5 separate regions of the Homo sapiens genome follow, and regions 1, 2, 3 and 4 are each linked to region 5. The links are contacts of gene promoters, found by promoter capture Hi-C in blood cells and fetal thymus (Javierre and others, 2016). All regions are on one chromosome and are shown on one strand. Each heading gives the region's core, a stretch centred on a gene start or on the middle of the fragment in contact. The rest is flanking DNA. Distances are from core to core; before and after follow the strand shown. Region 1 overlaps GNA14 (G protein subunit alpha 14). Region 2 overlaps GNA14 (G protein subunit alpha 14). Region 3 overlaps VPS13A (vacuolar protein sorting 13 homolog A). Region 4 has its middle 26 kb from the start of GNA14. Region 5 holds the start of CEP78 (centrosomal protein 78).

Evidence for each region. The method cuts DNA at HindIII sites, captures the fragments that hold promoters and counts their contacts. A CHiCAGO score of 5 or more calls a contact.
Region 1: a fragment that was not itself captured here is called in contact with the fragment with the promoter of CEP78 in region 5 in 4 of 17 cell types (fetal thymus, naive CD4 T cells, total CD4 T cells and 1 more); the score reaches 6.5 in fetal thymus.
Region 2: a fragment that was not itself captured here is called in contact with the fragment with the promoter of CEP78 in region 5 in 13 of 17 cell types (naive CD4 T cells, total CD4 T cells, total B cells and 10 more); the score reaches 10.6 in naive CD4 T cells.
Region 3: a fragment that was not itself captured here is called in contact with the fragment with the promoter of CEP78 in region 5 in 5 of 17 cell types (M2 macrophages, monocytes, total CD4 T cells and 2 more); the score reaches 7.2 in M2 macrophages.
Region 4: a contact is called between a fragment that was not itself captured here and the fragment with the promoter of CEP78 in region 5, in 1 of 17 cell types (monocytes). The highest score is 5.3, in monocytes.

What each region holds. Positions count from the first base shown.
Region 1 is chr9:77,433,026-77,436,961 of GRCh38, reverse strand. GNA14 (G protein subunit alpha 14) reads left to right here. Exons shown (of 7, transcript NM_004297.4): 3 at 2,440-2,594. Among named protein-coding and RNA genes, the nearest start is that of GNA14-AS1, 13 kb to the left of the region's middle. The HindIII fragment of the contact is 6,132 bases long and covers 1-3,936 here.
Region 2 is chr9:77,449,684-77,454,134 of GRCh38, reverse strand. All of the region lies in intron 2 of GNA14 (G protein subunit alpha 14), which reads left to right. All of the region lies in intron 1 of GNA14-AS1 (GNA14 antisense RNA 1), which reads right to left. Among named protein-coding and RNA genes, the nearest start is that of GNA14-AS1, 4.3 kb to the right of the region's middle. The HindIII fragment of the contact is 2,676 bases long and covers 139-2,814 here.
Region 3 is chr9:77,416,387-77,420,230 of GRCh38, reverse strand. VPS13A (vacuolar protein sorting 13 homolog A) reads right to left here. Exons shown (of 72, transcript NM_033305.3): 72 at 1-3,844. Among named protein-coding and RNA genes, the nearest start is that of GNA14-AS1, 29 kb to the left of the region's middle. The HindIII fragment of the contact is 1,204 bases long and covers 807-2,010 here.
Region 4 is chr9:77,672,464-77,676,490 of GRCh38, reverse strand. No RefSeq gene overlaps it. Among named protein-coding and RNA genes, the nearest start is that of GNA14, 26 kb to the right of the region's middle. The HindIII fragment of the contact is 1,152 bases long and covers 1,850-3,001 here.
Region 5 is chr9:78,233,614-78,237,669 of GRCh38, reverse strand. It overlaps CEP78 (centrosomal protein 78), which reads right to left and starts at 1,595. Exons shown (of 17, transcript NM_001330691.3): 1 at 1,067-1,595. The coding sequence starts at 1,319. RefSeq lists a silencer at 1,202-1,571 and an enhancer at 1,197-1,866. The HindIII fragment of the contact is 10,697 bases long and covers 1-4,056 here.

The sequences.
Region 1 (3,936 bases), core at 767-3,266, 800 kb after region 5:
GCTCCGTGTGTGCTCCCACTGTGACCTGCACGGGCTTCCGTCTTCCCACCCTAGTATGCTTTCACTCTTATTTTGTCATAATTTTCTGTCTTGTTAGGTAGGTGGATTTTACATGCACCACAGATGTTTACTGAATGCGCCTATCCATAGAAGACACCTATTATTTGCAATAGAAGGCACTGCACTAGGTTCTGGGATATAAGAACAAATAAGACATTGGTTCTGCCCTCATGACATTTCCTGGCCTGCCATGAAGACAGAGAGGAAAACAGACATTTTACATTGAGAGAGTAGAGCTCAGCACAACTGACCTATTTGGGAAAGCAAGAGCGTGGCGAGAGGAGGGGAGGACATGGGAGAGAGCTGTTCTGCACCACACTGGATAAACACTGTCCAGGTTCTCCATCCATCATTCTCGCCAGCCAAGAATAGGGTCCGTGACATGCAGCATGCCAGTGGTGGGATTAGAAGTCAGGGTTTAGAGGCTACTGATGTGTCCTGTTTTTGCAAACAAGAAATACTTATTAGACATCTGCTACAATAGTAAAGGCTAATTCTACTTACATATAAGTAACACTTTATAATTCAGGTACCCCTGGAAATCATGGCTCGTTTTACAAATGAGGACACTGAGGCAGGTAACTTGTTGGGGTCCTTAAAAGTCCCAACTACACTGTTTAGAACTCAGGGTCCTGATTCCCAGGCCAGCGCACTTTCCAGTAATCCATCCTGCCTGGACCTTGTTTGAGATCCTACCTGCCTGAAGGTCCTACAGTCTCCAGGAAGAGTTTACATTCACTTTCCTGACAGGTGTGGGGAAAAGTCACATCGATTCATTCACAGTCCTTGGTTAGGATGAGCCAGGTGGATGTGTAAGATCCTCCTTTTCTCTGGCTTGCTGTTGGATAATTATAAGGATGAACAACGCACAATAAAAGTGACTTTTCAGGAGGTACCGTCTACACTTGAGATCCCAGCTACCAAGCAGATGGTTTGCTGACTCACAGCTGCTGCTGTAGCCAGCCCTGCTTGGTGATGTAACTGCTGTGGGATGCAGAAATATGGGAGGGGGAATAAGAGCCTGGGGTCCTGCTTCTCTTGCCAGGATTCACTTGTCTGCTACAACTTGCAGCCAAGGAAAGGATGCTGAGTCTCTGGGGCCAACACGGGGAAATGTTGTGGCTGCAGGCCAACCTTATCTTTTCCATTTTCTGAGGTTTGGAAAGATTTCTGGCTCATGCTAGCCTCCCATTGATTAAATGAGATAATGTATGTAGAGGCCTTGGCACATAGTACATAGCCAATAAATGGTAACCGCTGTAATAGTAATAATTACAGTAATAATGGCCTTAATTACTGTAGTAATAGAGCAATAATTATTTAATAATCATAGTAATAATAAATATGGTAATATAATAATCAGTGGTGTGGGGAGAGTAGTGCATTGGGAGGGAGGCTCCCAGTGGGAAAGAGTTGTATCAGTGATGCAAGAAAATGAAAAGCAGACTGTGTGAGAATGCGCTGTACTTGCCCTACAATTTTGCTGGCAAGCTAAAACTGCTCTAAAAAGTAAAGTCAATTATTATTAATATATTTTTTTTTTTGGAGACAGAGTCTCGCTCTGTCACCCAGGCTGGAGTGCCTTGGCACCATCTCGGCTCACTGCAACCTCCACCTTCTGGGTTCAAGCGATTCTCCTGCCTCAGCCTCCTGAGTAGCTGGGATTACAGGCACGCGCCGCCATGCCCAGCTAATTTTTGTGTTTTTAGTAGAGATGGGGTTTCACCATGTTGGCCAGGCTGGTCTTGAACTTTTGACCTTGTGATCGGCCCGCCTCGGCCTCCCAAAGTGCTGGGATTACAGGCATGAACCACCGCAGCTGGCCAGTGTTTTTTTTTTTTTTTTTTTTTTAAATGAAAGAACAAAATCCCAGACTGATGATAAGTTGTTATTGTGTTTCACTTCTCTAAAGACAAGGCGCCTCCTTATTGCCTGTACCAGGTGGACCAGTTTCTACCACCCAAACCTTGGTGTGCCATTTTTAAATGGCCTCATTGGCTATGCAGATACTCAAATGAGTCATATGTTAATGAAGAAGTAAAGTTTGCTGGTAGGATGAAAGCTCCAGTGACTCTTTATTCACCACTGGGTGTTGTTGAATGCTGGCGAAACTGGCCCAGGACATGGCTGGGCACAGAAGCTGCAGGTCTTGGGCTGCTGGTGGCTCTCTCCACGGAGCTAAGCAGCCACCTCATCTCCACTCAGCATGGCTGCAGTGGGTGTCTTGGCTGTGAGCGGCCCCTGGGAGGGTGCCCACCACGCCCCATGCCTAGTGAGAGCTCTCCAAATCCACAGACCAGGGCAAGACTTGTACCGACATTGCCAATGGGTTGGCTTCCTTTCCTTTGCCTGATGCAAGGTTCTCTTTCCTTTGAGTAGGAAAATGCCCAGATAATCAGAGAAGTGGAAGTGGACAAGGTCTCCATGCTCTCCAGGGAGCAGGTGGAGGCCATCAAGCAGCTCTGGCAAGATCCAGGCATCCAGGAGTGTTACGACAGGAGGAGGGAGTACCAGCTGTCGGACTCTGCCAAATAGTGAGTACAGAGCCCACCCTGGCCGCCCGCGGTGCTTTCAGGCAAGCTCGGCCACACTTCAAAGAAGTTTCTCGCTGAACGCTGCTGAAATGCGGTGCACAGTGGCAGCGCTACTTGCCTTTGCTTTCCCATATCCCTCCTGACCTCTTAGTGCCATCTCTCACCACCTCCTAAAGCCCTCGGTCACTCTGTGGATCGCAGACCTCTCTTCCTGCCGACACCCGCCTGCTCTTGCTGTGTTCTAAGCCTGTCGTTTTCAATGAGAGACTCAAATCAAATCTGAGGTCCCTTAAGTGGGACTGATCTCCTTAGGAGTGCTGAAATTATCTGATTTAAACAAGAAATACCCTTGCTTTTGGCTTCTACTTTCCTCCTCTCTATATCCCTCTGCCTTTCTGGTTTCCCCATCAGAAGACAGCAGGTCCAATTGCGCTAAAATCTAAAGTCAAGTTTAGAGCAGCGGGGCCGTGGACCCATCAGCTGCTGATCTGGTGCTGTCCTCTAGTGGCACAGATAGGAGGCTGCGCTCGCAGCACACACAGGAAGCTCAATCCTTTGTTTATTGGCTGCCTGCGAAGGCCTACACACTGTATTTTGGATCCATACAGCTCAATTTTTAATTCATTAATCCTTGAAGGTAAAAAGATTTCTATTTAGATGTCCCAGCATGCAAACTGTCCCATAGAGATGACAGATTTTCACTTTCTTGGGCATTTCCTGTTCACATCTGTAATCCCAGGGACTTGGGAGGCAGAGGTGGGAGGATCGCTTGAAACCAGGAATTCGAGACTAGCCTGGGCAGCAGAGCAAGACCTCGTCTCTGCAAAAATTACAAAAATTAGCTGGGCAGCTGCTCGGGAGGCTGAGGCGGGAGGATGTCTTGAGCCTAGGAGGTTGAGGTTGCAATGAGCCATGATTACACTCCTGCAGTACAGCCTGAGTGACAGAGTGAGACTCTGTCTCAAAAAAAAAGAAAATGTAAATAAATAAATAAATAATAATATCCCGGGGCAATGCCTCCTCAGTCTGGTCACCGGGTAAATAGTTTGATATGGGTCCTTCTTAAAGTGGCAATAACTCCTGCTTCTGCAGCTCAGCTCTTTCACACCTGTCCCGTATCATCTTCCATCCTCTGAGGGCTCAGAAATCCCTTCCCCAGACGTACCTCCTTCCCTTTGGGTGCCACTGTCACCCTCTGAGCAGGCATTGAGCTGGACAAGGCATTGGGCAGGAAAGAAAGCCAGAAGTGTCACCTCCTGTGGTTTCAATGGGCTTCCTTTGGTGTTTATCCCGGGCTGAGAATTGAATGTCATTAATCCAGGTTGGCACAACCAATCTAAGT
Region 2 (4,451 bases), core at 227-2,726, 780 kb after region 5:
CAGGTAGTGGAAGGCTGGGCAATGCGGTTCTTCCTTGTGAAATCCAAGATTTTGAAGAGATCGGATGCTGCACGGAGCGGGCGAGGAGCCTGAGCTTTGTGCCTGTGCAAATGAGAAGAGATACTGAATCATGAAGCTTTCACTTCTGAGCATTAGCAGAAACTGCAGCAAGACTTCTGACTTTTACAAGCTATGGAATCGGCTGGAGTCTGAGCAGTTTTATCCTGTGAGAAAATGGATCCCCAGTTGCCATTGAACTATATGTATTTGGCAAGTAGTGTATCGTAAAGCTGCTCTTTGGAAACTCATAATAAAACTAGCATATCAAAAGCTCTGTGCTGTGTTCGGGCCTCCCCACTCCATGTTGCTGTATTTGTTGTGGTGGCTGCAGGCTTATGATTGCTCAGGTTTGCTCAGTTCCATAAATTCTCACTAAATGCTGCATTTGTTGAAGGAATCCTGTTGTAGCTTCAGGGCTGTTCTTGCTGTTGTTTTTAAGCCATACACATGTGGATTATCTTTCTAAGTGACTGAATGGTTAAGAGTTTGGTGCGCATAGTTACACATTTTCATGAACTGTTGCATTTTGTTAATGCATATTGCTCCTTGACTTCATTGTATTTTGTCAGTATTTATTGAATGTAAAGATTTTCAGGTAAGATTCATTTATTCATTCAAAGAATATTGATGTGCGAACCACCATTCTAGGCACGTGGGAGTACATTAATGAAGAAAAGAGACTAATATCTGTCTTAGTCTATTCAGGCTGCTATAACAGAATACCTTAGGCTGGGTAATTTATAAAGAGTAGCGTTTACTGCTCACAGTTCTGGGGATTGGGAAGTCTGCAGAAGTCTAAGATGAAGGCACTAGCAGATGTGCTGTCTGGTGAGAGTCTGCTCCTCAGAGATGGCATCTTCTTGGTGTCTTCGCATGGCGGAAGGGACACACAAGCTCCCTCAGGCCTCTTTTTATTTTTATTTTTTATTTTTTCAGGAACAGGGTCTTGCTCTGTCACCCAGGCTAGAGTGCAGTGGTGCAATCATGGCTCACTGTAACCTCGAACTCTTGGGCTGACGCCATCCTCCTGCCTCAGCCTCTCAAGTAGCTGGGACTGCAGGTACACACACCACCCGGCTGGTTACTTGTTTGTTTATTTGTTTTTAGGGATGAGGGAATGTCGCTATGTTGTCCAGGCTGGTCTTGAACTCCTGGCGTCAAGCAGTCCTCCTGCCTCAGCCTCCTGTGTCCTTGGGCTTACAGGCATGAACCAATGTGCCCAGCTCAGACCTCTTTTAAAAGGGCACAAAGTCATTCATGAGGACTCCACCTTCATGACCTAGTCCCCACTCAGAAGCCCCACTCCTTAATACCTCCACGTTGGGGATGAGAGTTCAACGTATGGATTTTGGAGAGACACAAACTTTCAGACCACAGCAGATCCCTGCCCTAAGGGGTACATGTACCACACAGACACACACACAAACACAAACACACACACCGCACACATATACATACACACACATACACATACACACCACACACACACATACACATGCACATACACACACACACACACACACACTTGTGTGCAGTTCTGCAGTTAACTAGAAAACTTGGGTAACTTTTTCAGACTTTGTCCTAAACTAATTTGATCAAGGAACTTTTTTTTAAGGATATGTACCACGTTTTGTAGAGTAGTGTTTTGTTTAATGTACCACTCTGGAAAATGCTTATAAAGGCATCGCTGGACTGAATGTACTTCAGGAAAATCATCCATAGATACCATTTGTTTCAAAATTTGGTAAGAGTTAGGCGGCAGAGAGACTAAATTCTCCACCAAGATCTGGAGTGCAGATATTCTTTGTTGCTACTTAAAGGCAAATCTGTCTGCCTCACACGTCACATGAGTAGGGGTGACTTTGGTGAATCCTAAGGCTGTACTGGAGCTTGTCACTTGGCTACACGTCTATCTCAGACCTGCTGACAGGACCAGTGTATTTCTACGGGGTTCTGGATCAAGCAGTCCAGCCTCTTACTGGATCGTGTCTCTCAAGTCAGCCTCTGTGGAGTTATATCCGCTTCCCCTGGGATGCGGTGTGAGACCAGCACATAGTGAGCATGGACATCACTAGATTGAGTGAAATGTTCCTGGGCTGTGGGGACTTCACGAGACCACATCTAATTTTTGCACAAATATCTGTCACTCACCACCTACCTGTGCTCGTCTGGTTGCTCGGTTGGGATTTTTTGACAGGAAATAGGAGACTTGGTTAAATGTCTGTGTAACTTTGAGATGCTTGAGGAGAGAGACACTTTGCACTGACCCCAACAGGTTTCCTTATGCACCTGATTACAACAAAGAATCTCGGGTTCTTGCTTGGGAGAGTGGCTGAGCAGCTTTGCTGCACGTTGGCTTGTCCACCCAAGCTGGAAAAACCTGTGGTCCAGAGTCCCAGGGTGACTAATGAACATGTGTGTGACAAGGGAGAAAAAAGTTTGGGGCAATATTATCTTTTGGGGATAACTGCCTTTGAGGCTGTCTTCCTGGTTATTTTGAGGATGTGTGATTCACAGAAGAGAGACGGACCTACACATTGGTCATCCTCAAGATTTTCAGGGCCATCCTAGAATAGCCTCACCCTGGATCCCAGGAACAGACCTCTTTATCAATAGTGGCATTCCTTTACATCCTCAGCTAAGTATAGTTACAATGATTGCTTTAGAGCACTCTAAAAAGAGTGACTACAGTGGCTGTGTTTGCCTTTATACTTTGAAAAAAGAATGTCCACAACAACAAATATTTATGAAGCTTTATAATTAAAAAATACGTTCTTTAGCTAGAGACTGCTAATGTTGAAAAGACCACCCCCACCTCCCCTCCTCATTTTACCAATGAGGAAACTGAGGGCTTAGGGTCAGATAAATTCATCGAAAGCTCCCTACTAGGGGATGAGCTGAGATTATATCTTGAGTCCTCTTGAAGGAAGCTAGTCTGACACACGTATGTTCCCCATAGGGCCGTCACATTCTTATGGTCACACTATACTCAGATGCCGTATTAGTCTGTTCTCATGCTGCTATAAGGACAAACCCAAGACTGGGTAATTTATAGAGGAGAGAGGTTTAATGGACTCACAGTTCCATGTGGCTGGGGAGGCCTCACAATCATGGTGGAAGGGGAAGAAGGAGCAAAGGCATGTCTTACATGGCAGCAGGCAAGACAGTGTGTGCAGGGGAAATGCCCTTTATAAAACCGTCAGATCTTGTGAGCCTTATTCACTATCAAGAGAACAGCACGGGAAAAACCCACCCCCATGATTCAATTACTTCCCATCAGTTCCCTCCCACGACACATGGGGATTAAGGGAGCTACAGTTCAAGATGTGATTAGGGTGAGGACACAGCCAAACCATATCAAGTGCTATCTTAGCAAAATCGCCACCAAAAAAAGGATGAAAATTACACGGGCCACTAGATAGACCATAGGAAGAATAATTTTAACAGCACCAGAGCTTGTTCGATCTCAGATGGAAACATTTGCATCAGGTGACTTAGATTTTTTTTGCTGCTCTGTACACGTTGGAGAATGACTGTGAAAGTGCCGTCAGTTTGATTTGGAGGTGACAAGTAGCTTTTAGCAAGTAGGTGAATTCACAAATATGGAATCATGAATGATGAGAATCGGCAAGATTTCTTCATTCCTTTGATGCGGCATGTAAGCCCCCAGGCACTTAAGAAGGTCAGAGGGAGATGGATGAAGATGAGGATTACGGTCTCTGCCCTTTATTAAGAGCCTCCTGTGCATGGGTAAGGCTGAGCACTTGATGTTTTGCTGGGGCTGACCACAAGCCCCAGGGAACAGAAGTGTGTAGTCACAGGCAGAGCCAGCCCCCTCATCTTGCTTTGGTGTATCCCATTTTGTAAATCAAGAGTCAAGACCATGACCATGAAGAATTCAGAGTGGAGACAGAAAAGGGCAATTTATTTAGTCCCACCAGCCGGCAACCAGAATGCCAAAGCTCCAGAATCCTGCAGCCCTGGGACAAATGCCCTGAGGATGCATAAGCCCACGGAATCCCAGAATTCCAAATGTCCTTCGGCCCAGGTCCAGCTTCCAGTCTGTCCGGTACCATGAACTACCGCCAATTCCTCATGTTCTCTTTGTTTCTAAGGTTCTTGTCTGAGCAGGGAGGCGGTAGGGGTCTGAGTCACTGTGAGGCACACACAGGGAATGTCTAGAAGGAGGCCTGGGCCTAAGGAGGGGTTCTCAAGAGGGAGATTATGCTCTGGCGTTTTGCCATCAAAGAACTTTATTTCCTAATGTTTATTCTTCAGCTCAGCCTCGGCTATACCTGCCTAGCTGGTGTTAAACTAATGAATCTAACATTCCCTTCCCTTTGCATTGGGGTTTGAGTATGAAACCTGTTTGACAGGGAATTGGGGGAGAA
Region 3 (3,844 bases), core at 159-2,658, 820 kb after region 5:
GTAACAGCCAGAGTGGCCAAAAATTGACAGTACAGATTACAAGAATCAAAATTTTAACCGACAAATCCTAGCTTGATTAGGTTGCCATTAACAATAAGGTATAATTTCAAAAGTATACTTCAAAGGACTAAGGAGGGTGAATGGGTTTCCTTTTAGAGTTGCGCTATACTGAAAAGCACCAAAAAAAATCAGATTGACTAAGTCTGTATTGAGTCCTGCATACAGAATGTAAGTTATTTACATTTTCTACTTGGATCTTAAAGAAATGAGGAAATCCACTGTTTTTAGTAAAAAGTCATTGATATTTGCATAGCACCCCCCAGACACTGAATATTTTGGCCCTACCAGAATGTGCCCTACGTATTAGCTCCCCATTTTTAAAGGCCTTTGCCACCTGTATGGTGAATCAGCCAAAAGGTAGATGGTGCAGATTCAACGGACTCAAAAGGACAATGTATGTCCCCAGTTCTATTATAGTAAAATGCTTAGTGGTAAAGAGGTTAAAATACATCTAGGTAAACAAAAGACTATGGCCTTTTTTGGGTGCTGTGTGTGGATCTAATTTTTCTATGCTTTTTCTGGTCCCACTGAATCATGTGAGGTTGCCCGATACACAGCAGAGAAGAAAAATATTTTAGAAACCAAGAGTGATTCCATCTTCTCACTCAAAAGAAGAAGTGCTAAGCATCTCTAGACTTCCTGAGTTGTGGATCTGCTGCTCCTTATCTAAGGTCAGGCTCCACACAATCCAGACTCTTCCAACAATCACTGGATGGCCGGTGCCTCCTGCAGCAGTCTTTCAAGCTTTCTTTTTTTAAATTGCATTTCATAACAGGAAACACTTTATATTGTGACCCAGTATACACAGTAAATAGAATATTTAGCTGAAACAGTATTTCAGGAACCAATACTTAACCATTTTATATGCTCTATTGTTCCTCTATTTTTTATTATTTCACGTTTAAAATATACTGGTCTTGAGCTGTTAAGTTGATTTCATGACCCACTAATGAGTTAGGACTTACAGTGTGGAAAAACAGCATCCCTGAGGATTTGGGTTGATCCTGACAAAAGGTAACAAGCAATGCCCTGGAAGCCGAAAAGATTCCTCTGAACTGTGTTGGCTGAGCCATGAAAGCATCCACTGTCAATGTATTTGGTACACACTTTGAGCTTCTACAGGCAAACTAATCAAGTATTTTGTCCCAATCTTTTTAATACAGAGGCCTACATGAGGGGGCACTTGGCATAGCCTGAAGGATCAACTAATACTGGCAAGTGATAACTGAATAATTTAGGTGCAGGAAATTCAGCACTGTGTAGAGTCCTTTTAATTTAATCTTTCTTTTTACCAGAGAGTAATACGATGCTACTATGTGGGATGTTTCTAAGAGATGAGCTAGGTGCATAGATATTCAATGGAACAATATTACCGCTATTACTATTGGAAGAAATGAGAGAGATAATTATGATAGAAAATATCACGTAAGTAAGTGTAAGAAAGATTTATTCACTTGGAGGCCACAGGATAGTTGCCTCCAAATGGACTAGGATTGTGGAGGAGAGGGGTAGGTAAGAACTGTCTACAGGTGGTAATGATTGTTTAGGGTCCAGATAACAACAACTCAGCCACACTAAACTGACCTTGGGATTTTTGTGAACACTAAAGGAAAAGCAGCAAATATGTATACTCTAAAAGGGAAGACACTGGAGAACTGTATGTGCCTTTTGGCTCAGAGAGTATTTTGCAAATGTGAAGAAATCACAAGCTGCTTTTGATCACAAGTACCAGAAATCAAAGTCACTCTTTCTGATTATGATTTTCTGGTGGAGAGTTGGCAGGGAACAGGCACTCTGCCTTAGTCCTCACACAATTATCATAGACCAGAAGACATGCTGTGCTGGAATTAAGGGCCTAGTAATATAGTTAGTTAGCAAATAATACATGGAAGGGGCACAAGACTCAACACCTCTCATTCCATAGCCACTACCAAACAACTAAGACAAGCTTAAATTTCTCCAGCAGAGAGCCATTTCTTGTAGTTAAATGTAATTTAGGGCAGATGGTTTTCAAATACAAGAAGATTCTTATTCTAACCTTCAAGAAAAATGGGCTACAGAATCAAACAAAAACTGTAAATTGTAAAATGTGATGCTAAAAACACTGACTCATTATCTAGTGATCTACTGATTTCTTAGTGTTTTTGTTTAGATGAAGACAATCTTCTAAAACAACAAATGATATGATGTAGCTCTTAAAACTGTGGGTCCCTCTAGTCTAGAGACAAGGAAGTGATGGGAGGAGGTGATGAGTAAACGAGTGGCAGGGAAAGGAGAGATTTCACGGTTCTTATGGCAAGGGAACAGGAAAGACAGGCACTATCCTTTCCATGTGGATTAGTCACAAGACCCACTCCTGCTGGCTGCCAGAGGGCACCAGAAGAATTTCTATGTTTACTATTTATGTAAGGCTTTTCTACTTCACGACACTACACCCAGGGAGGCAGGGGACTGTAATTTTTCTGAGAATGGTGAAATCATAACATTGGGTAATGAAGTATTTCGTTTTGGATGAGGACAGTCTGATGCAAGCTTTCTGACTACCTCTACTGTTAAGTTTAATTCTGACAAAAGCAAAACTGGAGGAGCTTAGCGACAGAGAAAATAAGCACTTTTTTTTTTTTTTAAACAAAGGTCAACATGGAAACACACTTTCATGTGATTTTAAACTTGTGGTTTGATTCAATTTAAGTTCAGCAAAGAAAAAAGCATTTTGGGGGAAACTACTGAGAATAAACAATGTGTTTTAGTAATCAGAGAGAAATCAATAGCATTTAGTAGATTTGGTCAGCAAGAAATACAATTACAATATAGCATGCTGTTTATTTTAGCTTTTACAACAAAGCGAGGGTTTAAGGAGCCTGAGAAGAATTTCACAACTATTGACTATACAGAGTCTTCAATTCCAAAAACAGTTAATAGTAACTTGGTGGCACATACAACATGCATTGAATACTCTGTATTATTCAGTAACTAAATAGGATCCTGCATCATTCTCTTCACAGTTCACAATCATACATTCATTCTCTTTTACCTGAAACAGTCCATTAATATTAAGGTGCAAAGATCTTGGACAAAAACCAAGAAAGAAAACCTCATGTCCTTATTTTTACTAATGTATAGCTGATGATTTCTGTGATGAGCTGTAAATTTAAAAGCGTGACTCTCATTTGAATAACTGTAGAGTAAGCAAACCAGAAATTCTCAATCTATTGGCAACGGGACAGGTTATTGGGTTAGATTTTAGGGTACATAAACTTTATATGAGAGGGACTGTCTGTTGGAAGCATAATACACTATCTAAGATGTTGGGAATTGTGTTTATTCCATGTTAACAGTGAATGGAAAGTAGGCATTGTTAAGGCTTTAAAAATTCTCCTTTGATATTAGCAGTCTATTAAAAACATGACTTGGGTAAACCAAGTAGATCTCATGAAATAGGCTTGAGGAAATATTTCAAAGGCCCTAAAGTTCTGAAACAGACTTCCTTTTTTGAGTAGGATACTTATTTCTTTAAGGTTTCTTAAGGGGAGGCTTCAATCTATGTTATAAATTATATTTTAAAAGATTGTTTTTAATAATGCTATGCATTTTAAGTACAATTCAAACCTATCCTTTATATTAAAAAGGAAAATAATATCAAAATATTTATCTGGCAAAAGAACTTCATGATTCTGAAGAAACCACCACCAAAGTTCTCTTGATACCACTGAGGCAATGTTTGATTTCTTACCCATCACTCAGGGAGTTTGAAATAAGCATGACAGAAGTACAAAATGTGAAC
Region 4 (4,027 bases), core at 1,176-3,675, 560 kb after region 5:
GTTAATTGAGACAAAAATAGAGGTGGTCATTACTTAGATGTCCCAACCTCAGTCCATGGCCAATATGGCACTACTGCGTATAAATACTAACAAAGAGAATCAGCAGTGCAAGAAGGGACAAGGCCTTGTTTTTGACAGCAGCACTAAGAAACTTTAGAGAGAAAAGCCTGGTCAGCCTTAAGAATCTGGGGATAGGCTACGTCTATCATTCTTTCAATGGGCCCATACTAGGTTTATCTAGAGCCATGGTTCTCAACTTTGCATACATATTGGGAACATCTTGAAAACACACTGAGGAAATCAGCCTGGGCTGTGGCCTGGTCATTCAGGTGTTTTAAATCTTCCCAAAATAATTTTAAAAGTGCTGCCAAGGTTGAGAACCACTAACTTAAATGCTTCTTTGACCTTTTTATATTTTCTACCAACTCATCTTTTGAGACTAAGTGACAGCCAATATGTGGGATCTCAGAGACCTTGTTGACATCTACTGACCTGCTCCTTACTCCTTCTCTGCCACTCTGAGGGTGCTGCCAAGGCTTCTTTCTTGGTCCCCACTTCTTGCTGTGAACATTGAACAAAATTTCCTTCCTTCATTATCCAAGGGCCCTGCGTGGATGCCTGTATTGATTGGCTTGAGTGTTGATCCACTTTAGGTGGCATTTAAAAAAAGGCCACGTTCACTCCATGTGGGAATTTGGTGATCAATCACACAATCAAATGAAATATGATGCCCCCTTCTGTGGCCAGTCTTGATTTTTTCGACCTTAGGCAAATCACCTCACTTTTCTTAGTTGCAGTTTCTTCACCTCTAAAATAAAAAGCACTGTATCATTCTGTAATTCCACTAGTTTCCTATATTTATCATCTGGTATCTTTTATTTGGTACTTGTTTTAGTTTCTATGATAGAAAAGAAAACAATATTAAAATGCCAATTTGCTTGGCTTTATGGGAATAGCAGACAATGAAAAGCTATTCGTATGAAAATTCTATATGGATATTAAACATATTCCTGTTTGGATTTATTGTCAACCTCAGTGAACAAGTGGCAATTTAAAATGTTTGTTCAGTGCCAGGAGAAGATATGGAAACATAATCATGTGGAAAGTTTGTTTGAAACACTCTGTTCTCAGAATCCCTCCACTGTCGATTTGCAAATAATTTCACTCCCGAAAGAGCCATGGGTCTATATTCTTATGCCTATTTATCTACATCGAAAGCAGCTTTCGTTTAGCTCATTGAAACATGTAATCCCAGGGGATAAACAACACGGTACATGTTAAGTATCTATAGTGTTTTCAAGAAGTCATGCTCACATGGAAACATACTAGAGAGTAAGTAATGAAGTGTAAGTATGAATGGTCTCTCTGGAAAGATCCACTATACTGAATAGTTTCTGATTGTCATCAAGTGGCGGAGAGCGCTGTTATTCAATGATATCAAATATTTCAAACTTCCTAGCTCCCATCCTCCCCTACCCCCCGCCCACCCCGATGCCACTCCTCAAATCTTTGGCTGAGCAACTATGCTGCAACAAACTTTTTTTTTTATTATTTATTTTTGAGACAGAGTTTCCCTCTTGTTGCCCAGGCTGGAGTGCAATGGCGTGATCTCGGCTCACTGCAACCTCCACCTCCCGGGTTCAAGCCATTCTCCAGCCTCAGCCTCCCCAGTAGCTGGAACTACAGGGGTGCGCCACCACGCCCGGCTAATTTTGTATTTTTAGTAGAGACAGGGCTTCACCATGTTGGTCAGGCTGGTCTCGAACTCCTGACCTCAAGTGATCCACCCGCCTTAGCCTCCCAAAGTGCTGAGATTATAGGCGTGAGCCACCACGCCCGGCCATAAGCTTTCTTTATTCAGTAACTAGTGAGTGGCTTGCATCTGAGAGGCTTCCCTATTGGTGGACACTGGCTGGGTCTTTCTGCCCTCTTCTGGGTCACTAAGGTAGATACTTTAAAAAAAAGATAGCTCCTGAATTTCTCTGTTCAAGTCCATTTTTTCTCCTGGCTCAGCTCACTCTCTCTCAGAGGATGCTACATTGCTATTGCTGGCAGCAGTGAGGCAAGGAAAGACTGAAGGCATGCACAGGAAACGAGCTTGTCCTCAAAAAACCGAAATGTCTGAAAATCAACACACAGAGGAATGAAAATGCTGATGCTGAAAGGGTCAAGTGGGTTTCTCAACCCTGGCAAATAACTATATAGGGTTAAAGAGTTTCTGGTGCATTTTGGCAGGGGGTTTCACTCCTTAAATGTGTTTGGTGGTTGAAGTTCAAGAAAGAATGGTTGAAACATAGTCCAAATAGTCATTGTCAAGTTTATGTAACAGGAAAAAAGGACCAGCTGAGATCCGTCTATGAAGTGTAATTGGAAATCTGCTGAGAGAGAGAGAGAGAGAGAGAGAGAACTGTATTGCCAAATATGGGGAGAGTTAAGACAGTTTTTACTTTCTGCCAAATAGTATCTGTTACATTCTGTAAATCCAAGTCTCCATTATGAAAGAAAAAAAAAAAAGAACCAGTACATTTAAATGTACACTGCAGGGGAAACTTTCCAGTGATTTCCAATTCAGCTAGTCTTTGAAGTACTGGAGAAAACTCTGAGGGTCTTCAATGTAGGCAGAGGCTGGACAAAGTGTTCAATTAAAAAAGGCCTTAGAACACAATTTTATCCAGACTGGGTACCCAGAGCCATGAGCTCAGGTGACCCACAAGTCTGCAGTCTGGCTTCCAGATGAAAACACTAGACAAGTGAACTGAGTTTTAAAAACTGGTAGGCATTGGGGTGGGGAAGGGGGTTTTATCATTCCATCCCCTTAGTCTCTAGTTACCCACAAGGAAAGCCTTTGATAAAGTAGTTGCAGCAGACACAACGAATAACTGCTTCACCAAGACATGTATTTCAGAAAACAAGACATTTCTATTTTCAGTAAGCAGTCTTTACTGTACATACAATAACTAACACATTGTCAAAGAATTAGCCATGTTTTTAAGCCCAAGCTTTTGGGATCAGATAGGTCTGAATTTGATCCCCAGCAATACAACCTCCTAGGTAGCTGTGTAATGTTGACCAAGTGCTATAATGCCTTGGAGCCTCAGTTTCTTCATCTGTAGAATGAGATAATTAATAACACTTATATAACAGTATTGTTGGGAGAATTAAATACAGTTCTCCTTCGGTGTCCTTAAGAGTTTGGTTCTAGGACTGCTCCCCCACCCCCACCCCATGGATACCAAGATCTATAGATGCCCGAGTCCCTGATATAAAATGGTGTAGTATTTTCATATCACCTATGGGCATTCTCTTGTATACTTTCAAATCATCTCTAGATTATTTATAACCCCTAATACAATGTAAATTCTCTCTAAATAGTTGTTATTCTGTTTTTTCTTTTATTTCTATTACTTTTATTGTTGTATTGTTATTTATTTTTCAAATAATTTCCATCTGCAATGGATTGAATCCATCAACGTGGAACCCTTAGATACAGAGGGCTGACTGTAATATAATGCATGTAAAGATGTTAGTGTCACGACTGGCACATTGTTGATATTAAATAAGAGTTATCTGTGTTTTCTCTTAACATGAGAAGGTAGAGTTACAAAATAGAGAACAGTAATGGTTTTTTAGAACAGTCCTATGCTTTGTGTTTTTTAGAAGAGTTTTGTTGAGGTATCATTTACATAGCATAAAATTTACTTGCTGAAAGTGCACAGTTCAGTTGTTTTTAGCATTTACTGCACTTAGCATTTACAGAGTTGTACAACCATCACCATAATCTAATCTTAGAAAATTTGATCACTCCCCAAAGAAACCCATATCTATTAAATGTCATTTCTCATTCTCCCACCCCCAGCCCCTGGCAAGCATGAATCTACTTTCTGTCCCTCTGGATTTGCTGATTCTGGACTTTTCATGTAAATGGAATCATACGATATGTGGTCTTTTGTGACTGGTGCTACACCTACTCCTCAACTTATTTTTACATGAAAAATACAAAGTGGAAATCAAAAGGATTCTCTGTTAG
Region 5 (4,056 bases), core at 346-2,845:
AAACATCCAACTCTATGACAGGACAAACGAGGACCCTCCCTGTTTGGCCCCCACAAGGTTTCCAGCCTCAACTCTCTCTGCTCTTTCTCAAACCTAAATTCCAGTCCTGTAACTCAGCTTGCATACTCTCTCCTATTTCCAAAACTTTTGCACAAACTGTTCCTTCCTGTTACCTAGCTAGCGTCTATAGGAAGCTGCCTCCATTATGTAGAAAATGCTAAGTGCTCAAAGGAATAACAGCATTTTGTCATATATCATAGTTGACCTAACATATTTTCCGAATAATCAGAGAGTCTGGATCCCTAATTATACCACTATACATTTACAAATGGCTTGTATTTGTAAAGCACTTTACAAACTTCTTATATACACCTTAAAAAATGAAGACAGGCCGGGCGCGGTGGCTCATGCCTGTAATCCCAGCACTTTGGAAGGCCGAAGCGGGCGGATCACCTGAGGTCAGGAGTTCGAGACCAGCCTGGCTAACATGGTGAAACCCCATCTCTACTAAAAATACAAAAATTAGCCGGGCATGGTGGCGCGCGCCTGTAATCCCAGCTACTCGGGAGGTTGAGGCAGGAGAATCACTTGAACCCGGGAGGCGGAGGTTGCAGTGAGCCGAGATCTTGCCACTGCATTCCAGCCTGGGCGACAGAGTGAAACAGTGTCTCAAAAAAAAAAAAAAAAAAAAAAAAAAAAAGACAAAGGCTGACATGTATTAATTTCCTACCTGCTTAGTTCTCTATCAGGCAAATCAAAGTCATTCAATAAAATAGGTAACATCTGTCAAATGTTTAATGATGTCCCAAACTGTGCTAAGAGCTCTGCAGGCATCAGCAGCGCAGGGAATCCTTGCGAAGGCGCACATAACCTGGGTCTCGTTATTAAGCCCATGTTACGGATGAGCACACTGAAGCCCTAGAGACCTTAAGCCACTCACCTAGCTCGTGAGTGTCCAGGCCGCACACCCCTTCTATTGCACACATACCCCGACAATGGACACCACTCACCTAAAAACCCACTTCGCCGCACCGACTGAGGGGCCCTGGAGGCGGGAACTACAAACCTGTGTCCCCCAGCCAGGGCTGGAAGAAGCTCTTGATGGAGACCAAGGGCAGGTCTTTATTGATCTTGAGGGTGCTCAGCAGAGGCGCCCAGTCCACCCCGCGGAGGCGGTCGGCGTTGAAATCCAGCACGCCCTCCCGGAGACAGGCGCGCACGGCGGGCAGCGGCACCGAGTTCTGCAGCGCGCACAGGTACTCGTAGTGGGAGAAGAAGTCCGCCGCGCTGTCGCGGCGCAGCTTCACGGAGTCGATCATGGCCCGAGGGCGGCCTCGGGGGATGCCCGCCGCGGAGACGCCGCCCGCGCCCACCCAAGAACGCTGAGTCGCAACCCGGCCGCTCCGGCACCCACGGCCAGGCGATAGCGGCAGCCCCGCACCGGGCTCAGGAGCGGTGATTCGGTCGGAAGACGCAAGGCCAGAGCCCCAAGCTAGGCCGGCCCCTCAACGCCCCACTCCCGCGCTGCCTCCCGCCCTGCGGCCCAAGCAGTTGGCGCCCGCCTCATAGTCCTCTGAGGCGCCGGGATTCAAGCCGGTGGGCGGTGCCGTGGAACGGTGCGCCAAGACGTCAACGTGCTCGCTGTGCGTCGGCACGCAGGTCCCGCCTCCTGAGGACGGGTGAGTTCGCTGCTACCTGAGATAGTGGTCGGGAGAGTTTGAGGGTTTGCGAAAGAGTTTACTGATCGATCCGAATAAAAGTGAAATGTGTGGTCGGGCGCGGTGGCCCACGCCTGTAATCCCAGCACTGTGTGAGGCGGGGGCGAGCGGATCACCTGGGGTCAGGAGTTCGAGACCAGCCTGGCCAACATGGCGAAACCCCGTCTCAATTAAAAATACAAACATTAGCCGGGCATGGTGGCGGGCGCCTGTAATCCCAGCTACTCGCCTGTAATCCCAGCTGAGGAAGGAAAATCGCTAGAACCCGGGAGGCGGAGGCTGCAGTGAGCCGAGATCTTGCCATTGCACTCCAGCCTGGGCGACAAGAGCGAAACTCCGTCTCAAAAAAAGAAAGAAAATAAAAAGTGAAATGTGGATGTAACAACGCACTTTTAAAAAAAGTCTAAACATCTGAGGAATGTGTCTGTGCTTGCAGTGTCCAGCCAGCACAGAGACTGCACTCAAGGGATGTGGGAACGGCTGATTGAACGTGAACTGCGGTCATTAAATCTTTTATGTCTGTGTTAATATCTACAAATAAGCCTTAATTTCTGTAGTTTCTGCATATCTCACACGGTTCCTGGCAAATTGAAGAGTGTTTCATGAATTCAGGACTTTATTGTGTTTGCTGTGAATCAGTTTGTTTTGTACTGACGATGATGTTGGCTAACTCCCTTGTAACTAGTACTTATTTGAAATAATGTCCTCGGGATTATTTTAAGCAATGTTTAAGTATGAAATCATTTCATTCTCCTAACATCTCAAGGAATATACTATTATATTCTACTTTACAAAAGGGGAAACTGAGGAACGGGGAAGTTAAGTGGAAGCTAAGTGGAAGAATCCAGATAATTGACCTCTCCTTCTATTGGTATGCAATTGCTAGAGCAATGATAGTCCTCCGGTAGAGCCTTAGACATTGTGTTTATTGCATTCCTGTTCCACCCACTGCATTCCGGATACTCCAACTTACTTCCAACACACATATGCAGGCGTCTCTAAAATTCCGGAGATATGGTCACCAATTATTTTTATGTGCGACATGCTCAAATCTTAATATAGTAAACGCTTGTATATTCATAAACCAGCTTAATAAATGAAACATTACCATTCCTGTTGAAGAGCTTTGTGTAACCACCTTCCCAATCACGACTACTCTCTGACTCTGAGATAACTGCTCTTCTGAACTTGGTATTCATCGTTGCAATGTATGTCTTTATATTTCTGCTACATATGTAAGTAAGCAGTATATAACATTCTATATTTTCTTTTCCTACTTTACTTATCGTTACCTTTACTAGGTCCATCCGTGTTGACATATAGAGATATTCATTTATTTTCCCTGTTGTTATATGGGAGTTCCATGTAGAAACATACAGTAATGTGTCTGTTTTTCTGTTGATGGTAATTTAAATTGTTTCCAACTTTACGATTTCTTTGTTGCTCTATCCATTTTCTTTCTAGTCTCCAGCATCAATTAATGTAGTGTCCATTACCTTTTTAAAGCTCCCTCCTCCCTGTTTCCCATGAAGCCACCTGATTTCTTTTTCTTTACCTCTCGAATTTCTTCTTCTCAGTCTCATTCTTTGGCTTCTCTTGCATATCCACTCTAAATATTGCTGTTCGTCAGGTTTCTACCCTCAGCTTTCACCCCTTCTGACATTTTACAGTTTCTCTGGGTGTTCTTGTCTTCTGCTCAGCCTTAACTTCCCCACTCTAGGCAGATTACTTCTAACACAGATAGATCTCTTCATCCATTAAATTGCCCCCTAGAAAGCCAAGATTTCTCACTGCCCTCAGTGTCAGATCTATGTCACGTAGCTTGACATACAAGCTCCTTCATAATTTGACTATCTCTGTTGTCTCTCTCCTTGCTACATTCTTCCTGGCATGTCTTCTCTAGATACACAGAACTGCTTGAACTTTCTGATGTCCTATTGTTGCTGTCTGGGTCTTTTCATAGGCTGCTCCTTTATTTAGTCGGCTAACTTCCATTCTTTTCCCAGCCTTGGTTTGGGGCACCTTCCCTAGAAAGCCTGTTTCTCTCTAACCCTCATCTCTCCTCCCTTGCTTGTTTAGCACCTCACTGCTGTGCTCCCTGACATCCCTGTAGCATAACACTTAGAACATCCAATGATAAACATCTTTTTAGATGGTTTTCCTTCCAGAGTCTGAAAGCCCTTTGAAGGCAAGAACCATGTCTCATTCATGCTTACATTCCCTATGCCTAGCACAGTGTTAGCACAGAGAAAGTGCTAACTAATGACTAATTGTAGGAACATTCTTCCCTATTATCCCCGCAAGCTATTGCCAGCACCCTGTAGCCACTGCCTATGAA